Regions from separate parts of the Homo sapiens genome. Here regions 2 and 3 are each linked to region 1. Evidence: promoter capture Hi-C in human tissues and cell types (Jung and others, 2019). All regions are on one chromosome and are shown on one strand. Each heading gives the region's core, a stretch centred on a gene start or on the middle of the fragment in contact. The rest is flanking DNA. Distances are from core to core; before and after follow the strand shown.

Evidence for each region. The method cuts DNA at HindIII sites, captures the fragments that hold promoters and counts their contacts. A contact is called where the count stands out against the background at its distance.
Region 2: a fragment that was not itself captured here is called in contact with the fragment with the promoter of CA4 in region 1 in 2 of the 25 tissues and cell types used here (dorsolateral prefrontal cortex and stomach).
Region 3: a contact is called between a fragment that was not itself captured here and the fragment with the promoter of CA4 in region 1, in 2 of the 25 tissues and cell types used here (bladder and mesenchymal stem cells).

What each region holds. Positions count from the first base shown.
Region 1 is chr17:60,148,258-60,151,975 of GRCh38, forward strand. CA4 (carbonic anhydrase 4) reads left to right here and starts at 1,716. Exons shown (of 8, transcript NM_000717.5): 1 at 1,716-1,835. The coding sequence starts at 1,778. The HindIII fragment of the contact is 35,208 bases long and covers 1-3,718 here.
Region 2 is chr17:60,363,362-60,367,079 of GRCh38, forward strand. The region is part of intron 1 of USP32 (ubiquitin specific peptidase 32); the gene reads right to left. Among named protein-coding and RNA genes, the nearest start is that of USP32, 27 kb to the right of the region's middle. The HindIII fragment of the contact is 8,897 bases long and covers 1-3,718 here.
Region 3 is chr17:60,329,494-60,333,211 of GRCh38, forward strand. All of the region lies in intron 2 of USP32 (ubiquitin specific peptidase 32), which reads right to left. Among named protein-coding and RNA genes, the nearest start is that of USP32, 61 kb to the right of the region's middle. The HindIII fragment of the contact is 3,504 bases long and covers 1-3,464 here.

The sequences.
Region 1 (3,718 bases), core at 466-2,965:
GGGATGCCCTACCAGGGACTCGTTCTCCTCACCCATCTTTATGGTCCCAAAATGCACCCAGGGCCCCCCTCTCTCCTGGGGGGCCTGAATGCAATGAACTTTAAAGTGGATCATTGATCAACAGTCCCTTAACCCCACCAAAGTTTCCCAAGCCTCTCCCCTGCTCATCAGGGGGCTGGCCAGAGGTCACAGGGACTCCCTGGGGGTGGTTTTTATTCCCAGGAACAGGCTTCCTCAGTCCTGAAAGGGACATTTTTATAGCCCTGTGAACACAAATGCACTCCCCAGAATAGGCTCTGGGTGTGGAATCCCTCCTGTGGCTGTCATGGTCGCAGGCTGGTGATTACATTATACAGTGGTGTTGACAATAGAGCCCTAAGCCTGGCATGGACACCCCCTCACCTCCCTCCTGCCTCTCTGTAGGATCAAAGCTGCTCTGTGAGGCTGTGTGATCCTGGGCCAGGAGCGGGGAGTCAGCCTCAACCCTAAGCAAGGAGGAAGCATCTTTGCCTGAATCCTTCTGGGGGAGGCAATCCCCCTTCAGAAGTCCCTAGCCCAGGTTCGAAGGTCGGTAGGGACTGAGAGGTTGGCAGCGGATGGGGAGTGGCTAAACCAGAAAAAGGGGGCTTCCTGTTGATGGATTGATGGAGGAGGTCCAGGTCCACTGCCTGGTTCCCCGTCCCTCTCCCGCACCCCAGCCTGAGCTTCCCAAACTCCCACAGAAGCCCCCACCCCATGTGGGACACAGAGGACCTGCAGTAGCAGGAGGGCACAGCTAAGAGAGGAGACAAGAGGCAGCTTGGGGGCATGGGGGGGACCCCATTTCCCCAAATGTTGGAGCCGCCCTTAAGGGAACTTCCCCTGGACTCCTCTGGAGGTCTTGCCAGATGGGAGAACCAGGGGTCCATTCAGACCCCAGTCTCTTCTCTTCCCATCTCATCTCTCCACCTGGGGGGCTCAAAGAACCTAGCTCCTCCCCTTTGACCCCATCAGCTTCTCCCTCACCGAATCCTCTTACAATCCATTTCTTAATTCTGCCCCATCAACCCTCCCTGGTCATCACATAAACACCAGCAAGGGCAGTAGTTTAGGGACAGCTTTGCTCTGTATTCGAAGAAAGGTCTTTGGTCTGCTTAGAAATTAAGTTTGGAGCAGCCTGGGAGGAAATAGAAGAGATGAGACCCAGAGAATCAATGGCCACTGCCAAAGAGAGATAGGAGAGCCTTTCTGCGGCCACTGATTCAACAAACGGCATCACACGCCCCTCAGCCTCTCATCTCTTCGAGGCCATCTCCACCCCCACCCCCACCCCCACCCCAAGGCCATTCCAAGGTCCCATTCAAGACCACTGCGCAGGGGTGGCGCCAGAATGATCAAAGTCATCATGGGGCACTCATCTTTGTGTGGGTCAAGCACTTTGTGGTGTCGTGTCCCTGTTCCCAAACCAGGGACCAGGAGTAGGATGGGGGAGGGGCAGGGCGCCGCTGCTGAGTGGAGAGGACGCGGAGTGGGTGAGGGGGCCTTGCGCACAGGGCAAGAGGTGGCCAGGCAGGGCGGGGGACCGGGGAGAGCGGAGGATTTCAGATGAGGGACAGGGGAAGGTGGAGAGGGGAGGGCAGGCCCCGCCAGGGGGAGGAGCCGCCTCCCGCGTCCAGCTGTCGGGGCTCCCTCCCGTCGCGGCTCCGCTATAAAACCCAGGCCGGCAGGATCGCTGCACCCGCGGCGGCCTCCTCGGTGCGCGACCCCCGGCTCAGAGGACTCTTTGCTGTCCCGCAAGATGCGGATGCTGCTGGCGCTCCTGGCCCTCTCCGCGGCGCGGCCATCGGCCAGTGCAGGTGAGCTCCCGGGCTCCGGCCCCAGGTGCCCCTCGGCGGTCCCCTCCGTGCCCCCAGCTCCCGCCCCTGCAGAGGATCCCCCCGCGGGCGACCGGTGAGCGTCGGTGGCGCTGGGGTCCCGGGTTGCGTGTGCGCCGGGGGCCGCGAGGGTGCGGGAGGACTGGGCAGCGCGCGAGCTTGTGTGTGCACACGCGTGTCAGCACCGGCTGGGGGAGCGTGTGCACGGGTGTGCGCGGTGAGGGTGTGTGCGCGTGGCCCGGCGAGACGAGTTGGGAGTCCCTGATAAGGATGCGTCTCAGGCCGGGCGCGGGTGCTCCAGCCTGAAATGCCAGCACGTTGGGAGGCAGAGGCGGGTGGATCACCTGAGCCCAGGAGTTCGAGACCAGCATGGCCAACATGGTGAAATCCCATCTCTACCAAAAATACAAACATTAGCCGGACGTGGTGGCACACGCCTGTAATCCCAGCTACTCGGGAGGCTGAGGCCCGAGAATCGCTTGAACCCAGGAGGTGGAGGTTGCAGTGAGATCACGCCACTGCACTCCAGCCTGGTGCTCCGTTTAAAAAAAAAAAAAAAAAAAAAAAAAAAAAAAAAAAAGGATGCTTCTCGGACCCGCCTCAACGCACGCCTTCTTTTCTCACCCAGCCTCCTCCGTCTGCCCGTGGGTTTCCGTCCGTCCCGCTGGGACTCAGCGCTGGGTGACTGCCCCGCGGCCAGAGCAAGGGCGGTCTGGCAGGGTCCTGGAAGCCGCGCTTCCCACACGGGTTCCTTGCCCCTGAGGGTCGCAAGCTCCCCTGGCCTCCCTAACCTCCAGCGCTGAATTGGGAGCCTGGCGGGGGCGGGGGGTGGGGGACCCGGAGCCCCAAGGCCTCTGCGGAGCCGGTCTTTCCGGACAGGGTGATTTTCGTTTAAAGATTAATGGTGAAGCCGAGCTCTTAATTATTCCTCTAGGTGGGAGGTGGCAGGAAAGGCATGTTAATATTTGATAAGAAGCTAAAGGCGCTTCAAGCGGCTGGGCACAGGGATCCGATCCTGGAGGCACCTTCTTTGCAACCCCAGACCCCATCACCGGAAGACCCCCTCTGCCAGTTCTCAGCCCAACCACCCCTCGGATGGTTCTTGGGGTCCACGCAGGCTGAAACCTCCTCTCCCAAGTTAGGTGCTCCATCCTCAAAGCGGCGGAGTGAGGGGTGAAGGTGTCCTCTGCACAGAGAGGAGCCAGCGTGTGCCCTTTGCAGCAGGGACTGGCTGAGCTGTCTTAGAGGGTCGAGGGGCACCTTGCAGCCTCTCCACCGGGCCCCTGGGAGAAGAAAGAGAAAAAGCAGAATGTGGAAACTTTTATTTGTAGGGTTGGACATTGGAAACCTACTAAGCAGCTAGAAAGTAGAAAGAGAAATGCTTTGCAGTTCTGGTGCTTTGTAGCTGTGTGGTCTTGGGTAAGTCACTTCCTGTCCCATTTGCAAAACAGGTGTTGTCATTCTGACTTCAGGGGTTTTAAGCGTTTGAATAAGATAATGGGTTTAAGTGATTAGTGCGGTGCCTGTGTGGCACGTGGCTGGTGTGTCATATACCAAGTTTATGGGGCTCTCCCCCAAGCCTGGGGCCAGTGTCAGGAATGTGTCTCAGCTCACCCCTCACACAAGCTGCTATCCCCTTTAGTGCCAAGGCTTTCTGACTGGGACCTGCCTTCCATTCATCTTATGGAGGACTCAAGCTGAGAAGGGACCAGGTTGCATATGGCGACCCCCAGAGCATCTCTGTCCATTGAGACAAGAGGCCGGGTGAGGATATTTGGTCCCCTTCAGAGCCCCAGACCCCTGGCCGGGAGCGACTGAGACTTTGCCCAGGAAACACTTGGGTTGTGCTGAGCTGTTTTTCAGGA
Region 2 (3,718 bases), core at 481-2,980, 220 kb after region 1:
GGAGAATTGCTTGAACCCGGGAGGTGGAGGTTGCAGTGAACCAAGATTGCGCCACTGCACTTCGGCCTGGGTGACAGAGCGAGACTCTGTCTCAAAAAAAAAAAAAAAAAAGCGCCACTGCACTCCAGCCTGGGTGACAGAGCAAGACTCTGTCTCAAAAAAAAAAAAATTTGAGACAGGGTCTCACTCTGTCGCCAAGGCTGGAGTACAGTAGTGCACTGTAGGCTTGACTTCCCACTCTCACCCTCCTTAGTAGCTGGGACCATAGGTCCATGCCACCATGCCCAGCTAATTTTTTGTTTTTTTCAGGGTTTTTTGGTGGAGATGGAGTCTCCCTACGTTGCCCAGGCTAGTCTCAAACACCTGGGCTCAAGCAATCCTCCCACCTCAGCCTCCCAAAATGCTGAGATTATACACGTGAGCCACTGTGCCTGAATAGGTATAATTTCATAAAATTCTTGTAATTTATCAACTCTGTGTTGGTTCCTTTGTTTTTGGGAGAAGGAAGGAGGAAGGGAGGGAGAAAGAAGGAAGTGTTGGGGGGGCACCTTACAGACAAGGTTACAAGTTTTCAGCTTCCCTAAAGTAATCAGTGATGATTCTCGTGCACTATTATTCCCCCAAAACATGCTTAATCTGTTCAGGCTGCTACAACAAAATATCTCAGATTAGATAATTTATAAACCAGGGAAATTTACTGCTCACAGCTCTGGAACCTGAGAAGTCCAAGATCAAAGTACCAGCAGATTCAGTGTCTGGTGAGAGCCTTTTCCTCATAAATGGTACCTTCTGTGTCCTGACATGGTGGGGCAAAGCAAGTTCTCTCAGGCCTCTTTTAGAAGGGCACTAATCCCATTCATGAGGGCAGAGCCCTCATGAAGTAATCATTCCTGAAGGCCCCACTTCTTCATACAATCACATTGGGAATTAGGTTTCAACATATGAATTTGGTGGTATAAGGGAACAAACACTCAGATCACAGCACCTGCTAAGCCAATCATATTTATTTGGTTTTTGAGGGGTTGTCTGTTTGTTTCAGACAGAAGCTCACTCCATCACCCAGGCTAGAGTGCGGTGGCGCGATGTCCACTCACCGCAACCTTTGCCTCCCAAGTTCAAGTAACTTTCGTGCCTCAGCCTCCCAAGTAGCTCAGATAGGTGCGCGCCACCATGCCTGGCTAATTTTTCTATTTTTAGTAGAGACAGGGTTTCACCATGTTGGCCAGACTGGTCTCAAACTCCTGGCCTCAAGTGATCTGCCTGCCTTGCCTCCCAAAGTGCCGGGATTATGGGCGAGAGCCACCACACTCAGCAGCCCAAGCCAATCATATTTAACATTCATGAATTTACAATCATTTACTATGTCCATTCTATTTCACTTTTATTAGCAGTCTTTTACAACATAATAAAGGCCAACATAATTTATCCATAATTTATCCATAAATTCCATTGTTCACTAATGTTTGTGAAGAAACAAAAACCTAATCCTCTAATGAGATTCATCTTCTATATACAAGTCAAACCTTATATTTTAGACCCAAATTTTATATTTGTAAAGAAAGCCACAAATAACAACATGGATTTACATCTTCATCAAATGATTACAAAAAGGTCAGATGTTATACATTACTACTAGTACTATCTAAACCCATAATACTCAAGTTGAAAGTAAATTCCTTATGCCTTTTAGTTAAGAAATCATGTTATTTCAAAAAGGGAAAGTTTTTTTTAAATGAAGAAAATGTTCATTGTTTTCCAGTCTTCATTATCAACTAAGCTCTATTCAGTTAATCTGATTTCATAAATAAGCTTATTTCTTTAAAAATGACCATGTTTTAGCCGGGTGCGGTGGCTCATACCTGTAATCCCAGTACTTTGGGAGGCCGAGGCGGGTGGATCATGAGGTTAGGAGTTAGAGACCAGCCTGGCCAACGTGGTGAAACCTTGTCTCTAATGAAAAAATATAAAAATTAGCCAGGCATGGTGGCACGTGCCTGTAATCCCAGCTACTCAGGAGGCTGAGGTAGGATAATCGCTTGAACACAGAAGGTGAAGGTTGCAGTGAGCCAAGATCAGGCCACTTGCAATCCAGCCTGGGTGACAGAGCGAGACTCCATCTCAAAAAATAAATAAATAAATAAATAAATAAAATATAAATGACCATGTTTTAAAGTTGAATTTAACTTTCAAGGAATTAATCTGTAACTAAAGAATTATCTTCCCTGTAAGCATTCACTCAGTATTTCCCCAAGGAACTCTTGTCCTCCTTAAGTACAAAACTTTTATTACTTTTTTCATTAGTCTATATTGTGACTTCATGGTAATAGTTACGAAGTTGTCAGAAACAAAGTAATTATTAAAAGAATGCATTAAGATAAACCATTTTTATAAATAAAATTTTGTATGTAATTTTATTAAAATACCAAAAATAATGCCCAGAACAAATATATAAGAGAAAAACCAGAATAAATCTACCAAAGAGTTTGGCCTTGAATACAAACTTCTGCAAAGTGTCAACTCCAAACTGACATGAGAAATTAATCCATTTGGAGGGCTATGTGGGGTTTTTCGGTTCATTTTTGGTTTAGAGAGAGGGTCTCGCTCCCTTTTTCTTGTTGTTGTTGTTGTTTTTTGAGACGGAGTTTCGCTCTTGTTGCCCAGGCTGGAGTGCAATGGCGCGATCTCGGCTCACCGCAACCTCTGCCTCCCAGGTTCAAGAGATTCACCTGACTCAGCCTCTCCAGTAGCTGGGATTACAGGCATGTGACACCACGCCGGGCTAAGTTTTTTTTCTTTTTTCTTTTTTCTTTTTTTTGAGACGGAGTCTTGCTCTGTCGCCTAGGCTGGAGTGCAGTGGCGCGATCTCGGCTCACTGAAACCTCTGCCTCAGGAGTTCAAGCGATTCTCCTGCCTCAGCCTCCCAAGTAGCTGGGATTACAGACACATGCCACCAGGCCCAGCTAATTTTTGTATTTTCAGTAGAGACGGGGTTTCACTATGTTGGCCAGGCTGGTCTTGAACTCCTGACCTCGTGATCTACCTGCCTCGGCCTCCCAAAGTGCTGGGATTACAGGCATGAGCCACAGTAGAGACGGGGTTTCTCCATGTTGGTCAGGCTGGTCTCGAACTTCCAACCTCAGGTGATCCACCCACCTCAGCCTACCAAAGTGCTAGGGTTACAGGTGTGAGCCACTGCACCCAGCCCGCCATTTTTTAATGGTAATAGTTCTTGGACTATGACATTTAGAACTAAAATAAGCCAGGTGCTGTGGCCCAGACCTGTAATCCTAGATAGTCAGGAGGCTGAGGCAGGAGGATCACTTGAGCCCAAGAGCTTGAGACCATCCTGGGAAACACAGCAAGACATCGTCTCAAAAAAAAGTTGGTTTTTTTTTTTTCATGCTGCTTTTCTTGAAGAAACAGAGACACGCTATTACTAAAGTATATAAAGATTTTAAGCCCACTCTTTTTTTTCTTTTGAGAGGGAGTCTTGCTCTGTCACCCAGGCTGGAGTGCCAGGGTGCGATCTCGGCTCACTGCAAGCTCCGCCTCCCAGGTTCACGCCATTCTCCTCGTCTAAGCCTCCCGAGTAGCTGGGACTACAGGAGCCCGCCACCACACCCAGCTAATTTTGTTTTTATAGTTTTAGTAGAGACGGGGTTTCACCGTGTTAGCCAGGATGGTCTCAATCTCCTGACCTTGTGATCCGCCCCCCTTG
Region 3 (3,718 bases), core at 463-2,962, 180 kb after region 1:
AGATGAGGTCTCACTATGTTGCCCAGGCTGGCCTTGAACTCCTGGCCTCAAGCATTCCTCCCACTTCAGCCTCCCAAAGTGCTAGGATACAGGCATAAGCCACCATGCCCAGCCTCTTCTTAAATTTATAGAATAGAACACTCCTTATTACTTTTCTCCCTTCCTCAACTCTTAAAAGCAAAGGAGCCTTTTCTATGCAAAATATCTAGAATACCTCAGAATATTACCTACTTATATCTGACAGACTGTCAGACCAATAACTAATTCTAGGACTGATTCCACAAACCAGATTACCACTCTGCCTTAGGCAACTTCATGCTGCCAACACATAGAATACCAACTCCTGCGACTCAGTCTCCTTTTCTTGCCTCTGAACATACCTTGTCTATTTAGGTCTATTTAAATACACAACTACAAGAGATACTCAGAGCATAAGCAGTATTACTAGAGATCAATGAGGTAAGTTATTCGTATGCCCTTGCAATTAGCTTCACACTGGTTTAAAATAATTAAATAATTTCTTTGAAGTTCTGGGTTGTAACTCCCTTTCCACTCACTAGCTTCCTTTAAAGCAATATTTGTCCCTACTCAATAGCTGATCTATTCCTAACCCAAGGAAGAAACTGAATCCTCCTCAGGTCCGCTGGTGCCCAAAAATGCCTATTAAAGCTTCTGGTTCAATTACTAGGTTTCAAGTCAAAATTGCTCTCTTTAAAATTAGTAGCTCTGAATTTTGCCTATTGAGACTTCCTGAGTAGCTTTTTTCTTTGCTGTTCTACGCTTTTCATCCATGATCTTAAAATTGGCCTCCTTGTCCTCACAAGTGGCTCCTCCTGTCTGTCCTTATTCTACTTTATTATCCATATTTTTCATGGAAGTGAATTATCCTGGATCTTCTATTCTCAGTAATCTCATTCTGGAGTCTCCTTGCTTTAACTTAGATTTCTTTCTTTTCTTTTCTTCCTTCCTTCCTTCTTTCTTTTCTTTTCCTTTCCTTTTTCTTTCTCTCTTTCTCTCTCTCTCTCCCCCCCTCCCTCCTTTCTCTCTTTCTCTCTCTCTCTCTTTTTTTTAAAGACAGGTTCTCACTCTGTCACCCAGGTCGGAGTGCAGTGGTGCAATCATGGTTCACTGTAGCCTCAACCTCCCAGGCTTAATCAATCCTCCAGCCTCAGCCTCCCGAGTAGCTGGGACTACAGACACATATCATCACACCTGGCTAATATTTGTATTTTTTGTAGAGATGGGGTCTCGCTGTGTTGGCCAGGCTGGAGATTTTCTAAAAGCTTAGTTAAACCCAAATATAACTTCATATCATAAGGAAAAGACAGAGTTCCAAATTTATCACTGGGCATTTCTTCTTTTCACTATCCCAACTTTCCCAGCCTAACCCAGCCCTCACCCTTCTCCCCTCCATTCCAGGCAAGTTTCCAAGTCAATGGTAGAACATCACAAGTTAACTGTACTTGTAACTTTTCCAATTTCACTCAAGCTAGTCATATACCTAAATTCCTACAATTCTGATCAAAGTTTTGGAAGTTCTTTTGTCTCAGAACTTAAGTGACTAGGAAAAGATCATTAAGTAAATAATAAAGTTCAACCAAAATACAAATGCCCTAACAAAGATAGAAAAGGAAATGATAGTTCTGTCCAATAGTCAACTTTTATATTCCAGGCTCACTTTCCTAAATAGTGTTAAGTATTCTTCCTGAAAAACCCAAAAAGTATATTTAATTTAACATTTTACCAACTTTTGTGAAACAACTGAAGTACAATAAAACTGCATATACTTAGACTGGGTGTGGTGACTCACACCTGTAATCCCAGCACTTTGGGAGGCCAAGGCAGGCGGACTGCTTGAGTCCAGGAGTTCAAGACCAGCCTGGGGAACATGGCAAAACCCTATCTCTACAAAAAAATACAAGTTAGCCAGGCATAGTGGCATGCACTTGTAGTCCCAGCTTCTCAGGAGGCTGAGGCTGGAGGATCACTTGAGCCTGGGGAGGTCAATGCTGCAGTGAGCTGTGATCATGCCACTGTACTCCAGCCTGGCCACCAGAGTAAGACCCCATCTCAAAAAAAAATAAAATAAACTTTAATATTAAAAAATCTGCACACATTTAAAGTATACAATTGAGGTCAGGCACAGTGGCTCACACCTGTAAACCTAGCACTTTGGGAGGCCAAGGTGGGAGGATTGCTTGAGTCCAGGAGTTCAAGACCAGCCTGGGGAACACAGCAAAACAAAAAAATACAAGTTAGCCAGGCATAGTGGCATGCACTTGTAGTCCCAGCTTCTCAGGAGGCTGAGGCTGGAGGATCACTTGAGCTTGGGGAGGTCAACGCTGCAGTGAGCTGTGATCATGCCACTGTACTCCAGCCTGGCCACCAGAGTAAGACCCCATCTCAAAAAAAAATAAAATAAACTTTAATATTAAAAAATCTGCACACATTTAAAGTATACAATTGAGGTCAGGCACAGTGGCTCACACCTGTAAACCTAGCACTTTGGGAGGCCAAGGTGGGAGGATTGCTTGAGCTCAGGAGTTCAAGATCAGTTTTGGCAACATAGCGAAACCCCATCTCTACAAAACAAAAATAAAATAAAATACAAAAAATTAGCTGGGCATGGTGGTGCATGCCTGTAGTCCCAGATACTCGGGAGGCTGAGGCACGAGACTCGCTTGAACCTGGGAGGTGGAGGTTGAGGTGAGCAGAGATCACGCCACTCCAGCCTGGGTGACAGAGCGAGATGCTGTCTCAAGAAAGAAAAAAGTGTACAGTCAATCGGTTTTGTCATGCATATATACCAATCACTAAACACAATGAAGAAAACAAAAACCAAACATTTCTATCGCCTCAAAAGTTTACTCTGGGCCGGACGCGGTGGCTCAAGCCTGTAATCCCAGCACTTTGGGAGGCTGAGGCGGGTGGATCACCTGAGGTCAGGAGTTTGAGACCAGCCTGGCCAACATAGTGAAACCACGACTCTACTAAAAATAAAAAAATTAGCTGGGCGTGGTGGTGGGCGCCTGTGATCCCAGCTACTCGGGAAGCTGAAGCAGGAGAATCGCTTGAACCCAGGAGGCGGAGACTGCAGTGAGCCAAGATCATGCCATTGCACTCCAGCCTGGGCAACAAGAGAGAAACTCTGTCTTAAAAAAAAAGTTTACTCTGCCCCTATATAACCTATGCTTTCCCTTTTCTCCTGCACCAATATCGGCACCCAGTCTCCAGGCAAGCTTCCTTTCACAATAGATTAGTTTGCATTTCCTGGAATTTTATATGAATGTAATCTTAAACATGCATGCTATTTTTTCCTGGCTTAATTTATTCAGCATAATGCTTCTGAGATTCATTCATGTTGTTGCATATACCAATAGAGCTTCCTTTTTATCACTGAATCATCTAATAAAATTTTACAAAGAAGTAAAAAGAAAATCCTCATTGTGAAAACATCTTACTCTATGTATAGTACACAGAACTTACATTTTCAAGATATTTCTATTTTGAAAGAGAGAATGTCAAAGAAAGACTACTCAATGAAAAAAAATTACTGGTATCATAATCTTTAAGGAAAAATAAAAACAAATTAAAGACTTCAATTACAGTTGACCCTTGAACAACACAGAAGCTGGGGCACAACTCCCCGCAAGGTTGAAAATCTGAGTATAACTTTGGACTCCAGAAAAGCTTTACTAATAGCCTGACAATCACAAGC